3 separate regions of the Homo sapiens genome follow, and all the other regions are linked to region 2. The links are contacts of gene promoters, found by promoter capture Hi-C in blood cells and fetal thymus (Javierre and others, 2016). All regions are on one chromosome and are shown on one strand. The core of a region is centred on a gene start or on the middle of the fragment in contact, and the rest is flanking DNA. Distances in the headings are between cores, read along the strand shown.

What was found. Contacts are between HindIII fragments. The CHiCAGO score rates a contact against its expected background, and 5 or more counts as called.
Region 1: a contact is called between a fragment that was not itself captured here and the fragment with the promoter of CCL28 in region 2, in 1 of 17 cell types (neutrophils). The highest score is 5.5, in neutrophils.
Region 3: a fragment that was not itself captured here is called in contact with the fragment with the promoter of CCL28 in region 2 in 1 of 17 cell types (neutrophils); the score reaches 6.2 in neutrophils.

What each region holds. Positions count from the first base shown.
Region 1 is chr5:41,861,840-41,866,480 of GRCh38, reverse strand. OXCT1 (3-oxoacid CoA-transferase 1) reads left to right here. Exons shown (of 17, transcript NM_000436.4): 2 at 3,731-3,839. LOC102723752 (a long non-coding RNA gene) reads right to left here and starts at 3,293. Exons shown (of 3, transcript XR_925956.4): 1 at 1-3,293. The HindIII fragment of the contact is 2,275 bases long and covers 1,830-4,104 here.
Region 2 is chr5:43,410,019-43,414,814 of GRCh38, reverse strand. CCL28 (C-C motif chemokine ligand 28) reads left to right here and starts at 2,424. Exons shown (of 3, transcript NM_148672.3): 1 at 2,424-2,562. The coding sequence starts at 2,499. The HindIII fragment of the contact is 1,630 bases long and covers 1,915-3,544 here.
Region 3 is chr5:41,784,874-41,789,723 of GRCh38, reverse strand. All of the region lies in intron 13 of OXCT1 (3-oxoacid CoA-transferase 1), which reads left to right. Among named protein-coding and RNA genes, the nearest start is that of OXCT1-AS1, 83 kb to the left of the region's middle. The HindIII fragment of the contact is 1,932 bases long and covers 1,117-3,048 here.

The DNA of each region.
Region 1 (4,641 bases), core at 1,718-4,217, 1.5 Mb after region 2:
TAACTTCTCCCCACTTTTGTTTCTCAAACTGTGATACTTGGACAATATCAGCTGTTCCTTGTCATTTATTTAACTGTAAGGTGACAAAATAAATATCACCTCATGTGAAAGTAATCTTAAAGCTAAGGCCTATGTCTTTTTGAAAACCTTCAACAAAGATCACCTGGGTTAATTTGCTACAGTATGAATTGTGTTTAAAAACATTCTTTGTAAAATCAGTGGAGTGTGTGTATAGGGTAGAGTGAGGTGGTTAAAAATTAAAACTAAACTCCAATAAATGACAAGTTGGTCTTACTGCCCTGGTAGAGAATGAAGAAAAGTTTGCATTTTCCAAAGGAAGCTAACAACCCCTGAGTATCTTCTATAGTCCAGGCACAGGGCTTCTGTATATAACATCAGAATATGTTATATACATACATAACCTCAGGGAAACTGTGGATAAGCGGTGGGGGGGGGGGTCTACTGTACATATAAAAACACCATGTATGCCATAAATATATACATTTGTTACCTGCATAAATATATACATTTATATACAATTAAAATTAAAACTAAACTCCAATAAATGACAAATTGATCTTACTGCCCTAGTGGAGAATGAAGAAAAGTTTGCATTTTCCAAAGGAAGCTAGTATCCCCTGGATATCTTCTATAGTCCTGCAACAGGGCTTCTGTATATAACATCATTTGATCCTTACTACATTCCTAGAAAACAATTATCATCTTTTTGTAAACTTAAAATACCTTCTCCCCCCATGAAAAAGAGATGCAGTGGTTAAGTAATTTTCCTAGATTCATACAACTGTGGCAGAATTGGAATTTGAAGCAAGGGTATTTTTTGATCCCAAGAGCATGATCTATTATGGCACACTATCTCCTAAACTAGATGTTGGGTTTCTTAGGATACAATCTGTTGTAGTATAAGTTGACCTGTTAGTAAATAGATATCAAATGTCAACAAATATTGTTAACTGAATATATGAATAATGAAAAAAACAAGTACCTGCAGGTTCTTCATTGTCTTGAGCCCTTCTCAGATTACCTGGAAAACATCTTCACTTTATGCTTTTAACTTTTGATTATCTGGGTAAACATGTCTTCCCTAAAATACTTTTGAAGTATATTTTTTTGCAGAGAGTGTGGCAAGCTCTTTGGTAATTTCTAACTGTAGTGAAAACTATCAGATGAAACAAAAAAATAGAATTCTTGACAAGCCTGTAGTTATATGCTTTTATTTGTGGGCAGGGGAGAGGTAGTGAGGGTTAATGGGTACCAAAAATTAGAAAGAATGAATAAGACCTTCTGTTTGATAGCACAATAGGGTGACTATAGTCAATAGCAACTTAATTGTACATTTAAAAATAGCTTCAAGTGTATTCGGATTGTAACTCAAAGGATAAATGCTTGAGGGAATGGATACCTTAATGTAAAAAGCCTCTATAGGTATATAGGGGAAATGAGTTTTCTTCCAACTTCCTCTCTATGTGGGATTTGTGTTTCTCAGCATATTGAAATAGTTAGGGTGATCTTACTGCACAGACTGTTGAGCTGTGGATGAACTCTTTAATTTTCTTCCCCTTCCAGCTATAAGGGCCTGACTCTTCACTTTTGGGTGGAGGTAATGACAGCAGAGTTATACAGGAAGAAATAGAACACTCACAAAGATTTATTTTATATCAAAAAATGAGAAGTGGAGTATGAGAGGTTTCAAAAAACATGGAGAGAAGCATATTGTAGTAGAAAGGCCCTGAGGTAGAAGGCCAAATAAAACCTTGGATCTGGTCTTGCTTTAATACAGTTTTGGGTAAAGTACAAGATCCTTCTAAGCTTCAAAAATTTGACCTGTGAAATGAATTGGTTGGATTAGATATATGCACTTTTTAAGTGTGTCTAGGAGATATCCTCAACTTTATCTTACGATCCTTCTGTTGGCCTGTTTATTCAGGCTATCACACTTGTAATTTCTAATATATTAAAAAATATATGTTTAAAACAGAAGCAGATGAATAGAAAAGAGGGAAAACTCTTTGTGGCTCAAGCCCTTTCTGTCTCTGCCTAGACTTATTTCTCAGGGTTTGAGCAGTGTGCTGGCATATTTTTAGGGGAAGAAAAGAATGATGGATATTTATGCTGTCACCTTGACCACTTCAGGTTGTGTCTGTCTGGGAGACTGTTAGGCAGTGGATGTGAGCTCATAACTGGCATGTTAAGGTAGCAGTATATCAGGATTCAGATGTTATTCTTTCTTTTTAGCCTGGCTGTATAGTGAGAATAAAGGAGAGGTGATATTGAGTATGAATGATTGCTACAGAATCTGCTTTCTTGTTTTCTTTTGTGCATAGTGTGGATGAAGTAGGGGAAAGGGAAAAGTTTACAACTGATTGCTCATGAATATTCACTAGGTGACTCATTTGGGACCAAATAGTACACAGTGGTAAGGCTAGACTTACCTTCCTTGTAGATAATGGTTTGTTCCTTTTATGTAGCCTCCATAAACCTTAAGCCCCATAGGAGGATGAGTTGTTTTGTAAGGTGTTTTTGTCCCTCTAGGAGGCATTCTTTGACATTTAAGATTGAACCTGGGGCCCAACTCTGTAGGTATGTGTTTTGTTCATATTGGCTTTAATTTCTTAGAGAGCAGTGCTCATGTCTTAATACTTAACTGTGTTGGAATAAATAGTACAGGACTTGACACATGGTGGGTTTACAGTAAATACTTGTTGATTAATGGAAGATTGGGTTACCAGAAACTGATGCTTGATGACACCATTGCTATGAATTTGAATTCCAGTATATGGACTTTTCTTTCTACTTTCATTCTTTTGGGTGGCCACAAATGATGGAGTTAGAACTTTCCCTTATGTAATAGAAGACATCTGTTACAAGGGGACTTCAGTGATAATCTGTGGATAAAATATCCATCCTACTTTTAAGTATGAGTCACTTAAAGCGCCAGGCTTTTGAAGAGGGGGATAGTATCACAGACAGAAAGGTGAAATGGTGGTTATGGAGGCTGGGGGTGAGGGGTTGGTGAGATGTTGGTCAAAGGATACATAATTTTATTTAGGAGGAATAAATTCAAGAGATCTGCGGAACACCATGGCGACTATGGTTAATAATATATTTTATACTAGAAAATTGCTTAGAGATTTTTAAGTGTTTTTACCATAAAAAAGTGTGTGCATTTATAAATAGCTTGATTTAGCTGTTCAACAATGTATATAGTATCCTCCCTTATCCAAGGGGAATATGTTCCAAAACCCCAGTGGATGCCTGACCTGTGGGTAGTACCAAACCCTATATAAGTTGTTTTTCCTACATATGTGTATCATTCATTTTAATTTACAAATTAGACTATGAGACATTAGTCACAATAACTAATAATAGAACAGTTATAACAATATACTGTAATAAAAGTTATAAGAATGCATTCTGTCTCTCAAATCTTATTGTACCGTACTTTCCTGGGGTGACAGACCTCAGAAAGGGAAACTGTGGATAAGGGGGGTCTACTATCCATATAAAAACACCATGTATGCCATAAATATATACATGTATTACCTGTATAAATATATACATTATATACAGTTATTACCTGGCAATTAAAAACGTGTATATATAAAGGAGATAATGAAATTATCATTTGTCTATCAATTGAATAAATTGCTACACACACAAAGTAAAGCTGTATCTCCAAATGATTATCAATTTTTTTTTTTTAATATTTCAGGGATGTGTTTGTTCCTTTTCCACCAGTGCTCATCGCCATACCAAGTTTTATACAGATCCAGTAGAAGCTGTAAAAGACATCCCTGATGGTGCCACGGTTTTGGTTGGTGGTGAGTACTAACACTGTTTTCATGTTATGGTAATGTCCTTATGTTTTTAAATGAAGCAGGCAAATCACAATGACAAAGATGTATAAAAATGATAATTATTTTATTATGCATTATTTATTGTACATATTATAATATCATCTATTTTATTAGTGTCTCCTTCCTAAAAGTTTAGCAAGGTTTAGCACTTAATATTTTACTTTCTCTGTGTGCGTGCATGTGTGTGTGTATGTGTATTTGTGTGTTTCTGTTTTGAAAAACTGAAGCTTCAAAGTAGTCAGGTTTTATTAATAGCTTTGAAAAAAATCCCTAGATCCCAATTTTTTAACTTAAAATGTTTGCATTAATCTCATAAGCTTACACCTTCAGAGACCCCGTAGACATGTATTGACCTCCCCCACTGCCAATTCTATTGCTGCTTCTTGTTTGGACTCTCGAGGGAGTTTCACTTTGTCACCCAGGCTGGAGTGCAGTGGTGCGATCTCAGTTTACTGCAACCTCTGCCTCTCGGGTTCAAGCCATTCTCCTGCCTTAGCCTCCCGAGTAGCTGGGATTACAGGCACCCACCATCACTCCTGGCTAATTTTTGTATTTTTAGTAGAGATGGGGTTTCACCATGTTGGCCAGTCTGGTTTCAAACTCCTGACCTCTAGTCATCTGCCCACCTTGGCCTCCCAAAGCGCTGGGATTACAGGCGTGAGCCACCCACACCCAACTTGCTGCCTGCTTCTGATAAATAATGTCAAGGATTATTTTTAGCATTGATCTCCACTCATTCAAGTAAGTCATTGAATGTTCATTTTAA
Region 2 (4,796 bases), core at 1,175-3,674:
CACAAGGATATTGATTGGGGAAGTGATAAGGGTCCATGAAATCTTCACAATTTATGTTCAGAGATTGCAGTAAAGACAGGCGTAAGAAATTATAAAAGTATTAATTTGGGGAACTAATAAATGTCCATGAAATCTTCACAATTTATGTTCTTCTGCCATGGCTTCAGCCGGTTGGTCCCTCCATTCGGGGTTCCTGACTTCCTGCAACACTGGAGTGGCTCACAGAACTCAGGGAAATACTTACATTTAACGGTTTATTATAAGAGACAGTACAGAAGATACAGATGAAGGCCAGACATAGTGGCTCATGCCCGTAATCCCAGCACTTTGGGAGGCCAAGGCAGGAGGATCGCTTGAGGCCAAGGTATGGGGGAAGGGATGCAGAGCTTCCATGCCTTCCCTGGGCACGCCACCCTCTAAGAACCTCCACATGTTCAGCTATCCAGAAGCTCTCCAAACTCTGCCCTTTTGGGGTTTTACAAAGGCTTCATTACATAGGCATGATTAACAACCATGTAGAAATGTGATTAGACAAAAAGCACATAATCTAAACCCAGCAAGTCCTGCCTGTTCAGGCTTTTCTTGGCCTGTGTAGCATTCCTTCCTCTAGAGTATGGGACAGAACCCTTTCTGGAATGAGGATCTTATGACCCACAATCAGATTAGAGTCCTGCCTTGGGCAGGTGAAAGAAAAACAGAAGGTCAGAGAGAGATTCCGTTTCCTGAGGCCTGTTCCTGAAGCCTAAAGTGCCCCAACATTATAATATAAAAAAAAGACTGGGCTGGGCACAGTGGCTCATGTCTGTAATCCCAGCACTTTGGGAGGCCAAGGCGGGTGGATCACAAGGTCAGGAGTTCAAGACCAGCATCTTGCCAAGATGGTGAAACTCACTCCAGCCTGGGCAACAAAGCGAGACTCTGTCTCAAAAAAAAAACAAACAAACAAACAACAAAAAAAAACTGTAACAAGGGTTATGGGAGTTATAAGCCAGGAACCATGGATAAAAGCCAATATATATATCATAACACCACAACCCGAGACTGAGCAATTTATAAATAACAGAAATGTATTCTCTTACAATTATGGAGGCTGGGAAGTCCAAGATCAAGGCTCCAGTGATTTCAGTTTCTATTTCCAAGATGATGCCACTTTGCTGCATCTTTTGGAGAGAAGGAGCATTGTGTACTCACCTGGCAGAAGAGCAGAAGGTACCAACCCATTCCCACAAGCCCTTTTTATAGTAGCATTCATCCATTCATGAGGGTGGAGCCATCATAACCTAAACATTGTCCATTAGGCCCTATCTCCCAGCACTATTAGGGATTAATTTTCAACATGAGCTTTGGAGAAGAAAAAAATATTCAAACCACAGCAGTAATTTGAAAACATAAAAAGAAATGGGTGAAATTAATTTTAATAATATATTTTATTTAACCCAAAAAGTCCAAAATACTATCATGTAATCAATAAACAGTATAAACATTATTAACAAGATATTTTATATTTTTTTCTGTACCCAGTCTTTGAAATCCAGTGTGAATTTTATACCCATAGTACATCTGAGTTTGGACTACTCATATTTCAAGTGCTCAAGAGCCACATGTGGGCTAGCGGCTACCACATAGGACAACACAGTTCTAGAGGAAGCATGGCATGACTTTGGAGGTCATCTAGTCTGACTTGTTATTTACAGCAAAGTTAAGTACGTTGCCTGAGGTTATACAACTTATTAGTAGATGAGGAACAATTAGAATCCAATTATCTTCATGCTACCCCATGCTTTTATTCACAAAGCTGATTGGCAGCAAAGCTGCACTAGCGCTCATGCCTCTTCACACCTGCTCTTGGGCTCTTTTCTACAAGGCATTGCCCCCCTTCCTGTCTTTCTCCTAAATAAGCTATTGTAAAAAGCTTCACTGGAAACAATTTGGCTGTGAACCAAGACTAAAGTGGGGTTTAATACTTCCATATCTTTCCACAAAGATACATTTTTTATGACTTGTCACCCTTGTCCCCAGAAACTCATGGTTTCCATAAGCTACTTAAAAACTGATTATGCAATGGGTCTCAACATAAGTGTCCATCAGAATCACCTATAGAGCTTTTACAAAATTCAAATGACTGGTCTCCTACCTGGGAGTTCTGGTTTACAAATCAGGGAAAGGGGAGAGTCATTTAGATTGATTTTTTTTAATGTTCCCCAAATGATTCTGATGCACACCCCACCTCACAGTGACCCTGCCAGCTGCCAGATCTCCATTGACATCCCCTGACCCCCAGGCAGGATGAACACAAGTTAGGAGCTTAATAAGTCGAGGAGGAGCCTGGTCTTAAGGAAAGAAACATGAGAAATAGATACCCTGAACACCTCCCAGGGCGGGGCCACCTGGCTTACTTTTCCTCTGCACTTTCTCTGTGCCCAAGGACACCTTTAGCCTCATTTCCTGATCGAACAGCCTCACTTGTGTTGCTGTCAGTGCCAGTAGGGCAGGCAGGAATGCAGCAGAGAGGACTCGCCATCGTGGCCTTGGCTGTCTGTGCGGCCCTACATGCCTCAGAAGGTGAGTGGGGGCACTGGACACTTAGGCCTTCACTGGAAAGGGGGGTATCTCCCAAATCTGTGCTGGAAGGATTGAGGTGGGGCAAGAATATCTATCTCTTCAAGCAGGAATTTCCAATTGATTTCTGATTACCTACAAGAGAATGACATAGCTTTAAATTCTAGATCTCCCAGAAGTTTCAGGAAGGAACCTCATTCTAACAGGCATACTACAAATTTTTGCCACCTGGAGGATGAGGTCCTTCCATGTAGGTACAACTTCGAGCTATGTTTCCTTTTCTGAAGACAGTATCTTAGAAAATCCCCAGCTAGAGGCTGGAGTAAAGCCCCTACTATTCATCTGTCTTCCTCCACACCCCAACCTGCTAAACGGTCTGAACACAACTGTGCACATTCCTGGAGGGAAATACAGACTTGGCCAGCTGCGTTCAAATTAGGTAAGTTGTAAATTTCCTGAGCAAAGTCAGCTCTATGGATACAGAAAACTGAAACTTCAGTCTGACCTTTAAAAAGGGAGGGCAGAGCTGAGCACAGTGGTGCATGCCTGTATTCCCACCTACTTGGGAGGCTACGGCTGGAGGATAGCTTCAGGCCAGGAATTCAAGATTGCAGTGAGCTATGATCACACTGTGAATTGCCACTGCACTCTGAATTGCCACTGCACTCCAGCTTGGGCAACATAGTAAAACCCCATCTGTTAAAAACAAAAAGAGGGGAGGGGAGGGGAAAGAGAAGGAAAGGAAGAAAGGAAAGGAAAGAAAGAAAAAGAAGAAAAGCAGGATGAGGGAGATTGAACCATACAAATTATGTCAAAGAGAATTTAAATCGTGAGTTGCTAGCATGTATTTGGAGATTGTAACTGCATTTGAACTAGAGGGAATCTCTTCTAAAGTAGCACTCACTACTATATTCAGGAAACCCTAAGTGTCAGTACTTAATACTTGACCAATGACTCTTTTCCATTGTCATCTTTTCTTTAAGCTTTATCCTGAACAGATTCTCTAAGTCTAGAGCAGAGGTGGAATATAAGTCTTTGGTCTGCTTTTTAAAAATCTGAGCCAACATTTTAAAACTGAAAGCTTTCTCATGTACATACTCATACATACACACATACAAATTGGATTTTAAAGCTTCTCTTGAGAAATCAGATGTGGCAACAATGATTCCACCATACCATGGCAAGAACTGGCTAAAGCAGATGAGCCTCTGAAGTTTGCTGTATTAACTGCCTGGTCCCTGCAGGCATTTGCTTAGGGACTCCCAATATAGTCCGTCAATGTACTGGGCTTATACAAATAAGCAACAGAAAAAACCTGGACAATCTCTTCTCAATTTCTACTAATCTATCTATCTTATCAATATAAAGACAAAAATTTGTCACTTTATGTTTCTGTAACATTTCTCAGAAAAATTCACCATTGAGATTTGGGGACTCATTTTCACTATTTCTGAAAGGCCTACCTGCTAAGGCTTCACTCCTAGTTCTGGTAATTCCACCAACTCAAATTTTTTACATAAAACTTTGAAATGTGTACCTCCATCCAGCTTCCTGACCTACTCCCACCTGTCCCCACAGCGGCAGCTCTCCTACAGGAAAGGAGGGAGGGAACAGCAGGTCGAGGAGGCAGAGGGTAATGAGGAAGGCTCTGCCATACCCAGGACCCACCTTCACATGGGACTGAGTCCTGGTAGAGACGGTGGGGTGGAACGGCAAAATGCAGAGGTGTGTGAAAAGGTACGGCTGCTGGTGATAATAAGGAAGGGAGCCGAGAGACCCAGCAATAGCCTTTTGGGTTAGTCTCGATGCTTTACCTAAGGCAGTTTAGGCCACAGGAAAATCACATTGCCTGAGAAGCTCCAAACTTCTGTCATTTAAAAATAAGTGATACTGGGTAAAAATACACAAGTAGGCCTGAGAACAGTCGTGGAATAGAGGGGCAACGCCACAGCTATTCTTAACAAACTTCCACTCAAGTGTCCATGTAAGCCAGGTGCCCTGTGGGAGGCACTTAAGTGATTCTGGCTCCAGGGAGGGGGTGGAAAACCAAGTGGGGAGGGAGGAAGGTAGAGAACACTCAACAACTCAACAGTGCAGAGAAGAGGACAGGTGGCCTTGGCAAGGGGAATAGGAAAAAGGCCTGTGCCAGTTTGGAACTTTGGGAAATATATTTTGTTTCCTTGAGGCAGAAAGCTGTTCCCTTATCTTAATGGTGTCTTAAATGGCTATCTTGTTGT
Region 3 (4,850 bases), core at 833-3,332, 1.6 Mb after region 2:
CTGAGGCTCAGGAAAAGAAAAACAGGTGGAAAATCCATATGAGGTCATATGAAACTTTTACAATTAGTAATGCCTTTGTCTTATTAGTGTAATGTAGTGGAAAGCTCATAAAACTTTGGAATTAGACAGACTTGAGCTTAAATACTGGTTCTTTACTTATTGATCATGTAGTATATCACTGTTGTAGTATATTCATTGGTAAAATGACAATTTTTAACTCATGCTTGTTCTGAGGATTAAATTCGCTAATTCATTCAACATGTATTGATCTGGCATATATTAAGGGTCAGGCACTGTTAAATATAAACGACAACGTTTTTGGGGATGCAGTAGTTAACAAAACAGACAAAATTCTCTGCATTTATGGAGCTGATATTCTAACAGGGGTCAGCAAACTGTGTTGCATGTACCAAATCTGGCCCACTGCCTATTTTTGTAAATTTTTCTTGGAGCATAGCCATATCCACTCATTTACGTATTGTTTATGGCTGCTTTAAATAGTTAGGATAGAAACTGTGTGGCTTGCAAAGCCTAAAATATTTACCGTTTGGCCCTTTACAGAAAAGATTTGCCAACTTCTGCCTTAGATCACTGATTTGAAACCTTTTTTCTCTAATATAAGCAAGTAACATCCTACAAATTTTTATGTTGTTTCAGTCTCTTCAAAATACTTTCTAATCTTCCTTGTTATTTTTTGTATGACCCATTGTTTATTTAAAGGTGTGTCAGTTTCCAAATATTTGGTAATTTTCCACATAACTTTTTAAAAATTTTTCAGTTTAATTCTTTTGAGGTCAGAAAACACACTTTATAGTTTCAGTCCTTTTAAATTTGAGACTTGCTTATGGCCCAGAATGTAGGCTATTTTAGTGACTGTTCCATTTGCACTTGAATATATATTCTGCTCTTGTTGGGTACAGTGTTCTGTAAGTGCCAATTGGATCAAATGGGCAGTTAGTATTGTTCAAGTGTTCTGTGTCTTGTCAATTACTGAGAGAGCAGTCTTGAGATCTTCAGCTATAATTGTGGATTTGTCTGTTTTTCCTTTCAGTTATACCACTTTTTCCTTTATCTGTTTTAGAGCTGTTACTACTTGCATTTATACACATTTAAGCTTACATTCTCTTAATGAATTGATCTGTCATTTTGTCTCTTCAATAATATTCCTTTTATTGAAGTCTACTGTCTGATGCTGATATAGTCACTCTTCAAAGTATGTTTCTCCATTCTTCTGCCTGTAACCTATGAACACCTTTATTTTTAAGTAGGTTTTTGTAATCATATAGTTAGATTGTTATCTTATAATCTCTAAATCATAATTGGAGGTTTAGACCATTTACAATTAATGTAGTCATCAATATGGTTGGGTTTAAATCTATCAGGATATTTTTTTTTCTGTTTACTTCATCTGTCCTTTTTGCCCTTTGATTTCTTTGGGATCAATTACGTATTTTTTGAGTATTTTATCTTCACTGTTGGATTACTTTTTAGTGGCTTCTCTAGGGTCTACCATATACATATTTTAATCACAATCTACTTCAAGTAATATATCACTTTATATATAATGTAAGAATTATACAATAGTAAACTTCTGTTTTCTGCCTTATTGTGTGTTCTTTAGTGATAGTTAATTCTGCATGTGACATAAACCTTATACTTCGCTATTATTTTTGCTCTAAACACTCGACTATCTTTTTAAGTAATCTTTGAAAATGAGGAAAAATCTTTTATATTTTTCCAACATATTTTCTGTTTGTTGCACTTTTTCTGTGCAGAGATCTAGATTGCCATTTGATGTTTTTTTCCTTCTGCTTGAAGGACATCCTTTGATGTTTGTTGTAGCACAAATTCTATAGATGTCTCTCAGGTTGATCTTTTTCAATATTTGCTTTTAAGCTGTGTTAAGATTAGTTGAGAGTAGCCTTTAGTTGCAGTTTAATTTATAGCCCCACTACTGAGAAAGTTTTCTTCGGAGGACTCTGCCTGATGCTCCATATATTACAAAATCTTTCCTCACTGTTTGGTAGGATTGTGAATTGTTCCTAGACCTGTGTTAGTTTTGGGCTTTTTTTTTTTTTTTTTTTTTTTTGCCTAATGCTTGCTTAATGGTTCTTTTTCAGGCTTTGACTAATTTCTTCTCATATATGCACATATTCATACTCTGCTAAAGACTTGAGACCTTCTTCCTCTGCAAATCTGAGCTCTCACTCTGTATAATGACCTCCTTTCTGGTATTTTCAGATCTCAAATTGTAGTTGCCTCAGGCTCTCTGAAGCCAACAAAATTGCTGAGTTTGACTTCCTGTACTGCAGCTTGCAAATTCTCTCCAGGCAGTAAGCTGGGGGAAATTGTAGACCTATCTTGTTGGCTTCCCTTCTTTCAGAAATGGTAGTCCCGTACTGTGTGTGGTCTAATGTCCGAAAGCCACTTTTTCATGTCAGTTTGATTTTTCTAACTGTTTAATATCATTAATAACATGTTTGAATTTATGTCATTGTGTATTTACTGATGGTTTTCTTAGTACAAATCCCTAGAAATAGAATATCTTTGTCAGTATTTTAGGGATTTTGATATATCACAGAGTTACTGGCCAGAAAAATTATCCCAGTTTACTCTCACACTGTTTCTACTCTATTACCAACACTGGTATCAGCTTTTTAAAAGCTATATTATTTTCTTGCGTTATTTGGCATTTCTTTATAAAGCTGCTCTCTGGGATTGTTTAAGGGGCAGCCGTACCTTACTCTTCAGGAGGGCATTTAATCATTTTCTCTCTTGTTTTGGAGACCTTCCTTTTGGCTTCTAGCAATTATCTCTCTTCAAATTCCAGTGTTGCTCTCTTTAGTTATATTAAAAAACAACATTGATAATGAGTATTCTGTGTTAGTGAATGTATCTTAGGAGATCCACTGTAACAAGCATGTATGTGAATGTGTGTGCATTTCTTCTGTTTACAATATTTTGAACAAGCTCTAAATGTGGGATAGAATAAAATACAGCTATTTTTATCTCCTGTGGTACTCTTTAACCTATTCTGTTAGGGAAGCTTTTCCTCTGCTGTTAATGAATACTCAGGCTGCATGACATTTCAGCTCACTCTAGGAAAATAAACAGCTCTTAAGTGACTTTAATTCATAAACTCAGTCTTCATTCAGACATTAGAGGGTCCATTCCAAAACAGTGAAAAATGCTTTAATAATCATTCAAAAGCAATGCATCTCCTCATTTTTGATCTCCCAGCTACAGTCTGCCTGCATTTGAAGAAGGTTATATAGTATGCTTTTGCTTTTTCTCTACTCCCCTCCTCTTCCAGCTCACTGTTTGGCACCCACCAGGATCAAAATTCAAGAGAAAGGGAAGGCAAGGAAATAGGGCAGGAAAGATTTTACATAGCAGGAGACTGGTAATCCTGTTTGCTGGCTCCATGATCTCTGGTCCATAAAAATATTTAAAGCTGATCCCTTCCTCTCTCTGTGTGTGTGGAGTGGGGTGAGCAGTTGTCTTTAGAGACCCCCTTCTTGGTTCCTCCTGCAGCGGCTGCTCCTATGGGTGATGGCTGGATGCTTCCCCAGCAGCTTCTGACTTTCCTGCGGTCCACTTAACATATAGACTCTTACCGGTGGAGTCCCTCTTCCTGGGCTATCCTGTTGACAAAGCATTAACCTGTTGAGGTTGTTCCTCTCTCACATGGCCCCCATCTGGGAAGCACTCACATTTCTTCTACTGCCTCCAGTGATAGTGTAGTTACTTCCGCAAAACAGCCCCTTTAATTTTCTCAGGTAAGAGTCAGGCAGCACTCCCTATCTGCACTCCCCATCTTTCAGGCTCTGATTTGTCAATGGAGTGAGCAGCAGGCATACCCTTACCCCTTCCTTGGTTGCTGAGAAATGTAGGGGTAGTTAGAATACTTTTCATGAAATAAATCCTTCATACAAAACCTTTGCTATTCCTATACTGTATTCCTTCAGCCTGCTGAGGGTCCCAAGAGCCTTGGGATGTGCTTTTGACTATTTCCTTTGTAAATTCTACTTCTGAGCATCTATCCTACATGCTGGTATCCCCTAGCTCTTCTATCAGTTAAAAGTGAGACAGCAAGATCTCATCTAACATCTGGTTACCAACCACTTTTGCTCATGAGCCTGCCTTTTTTTGTTGCCATTAATCCTCCCTATTTATCATATTTAATTCTGCACGTGATATAAATCTTATAATACTTTGCTATTATTTTTGCTCTAAACAGTCAACTGTCTTTTAAGTAATCTTTAAAAATGAGGAAAAAAACTCTTCAATATTTTTCCAGCATATTTGCCAATTCAAGCTCATATTCAGCTAAGCCTTGGTGCATATAAGGGTGTTTTCCAACTATGGTTCTAATACCTCTAGGCAGTTCCCCCTAGCCTGTTCTGTTTTCCACAGAGGACTGTGGAAGAACCCAGCCAAACCCTGTTTGTCCTAACAGGGAATAAAAATACTGACCCATTGGGATGGACCTTTACTTCCTGTGCTGTTTGGAAAATGCATTTAATGCCTTCAGAATTTCCAGGAGCAAAATATTATTTCCTCTTATACAGTGATTTAACAAATGGGCATGCATTTTTTTTAGAAAGGCAACTTTTTATTAGTGATTCACCAATTTAGGATGTTATTAGAAACATAAGCTATTTATTATACTTTTCTTGGGTGCTATATTTGGTTATTCAAAAATACTTTTATCTATGACTATCTGGAAAACATGTTGAAAACTAATGTTTAGTTTCCTTATTTACACCCAATATTTTTCAGACTAAAGGTATATTTAGAGACTGACATATTTGACATATTCATTTTGTCAGGAAAATTTCTCTTACTTG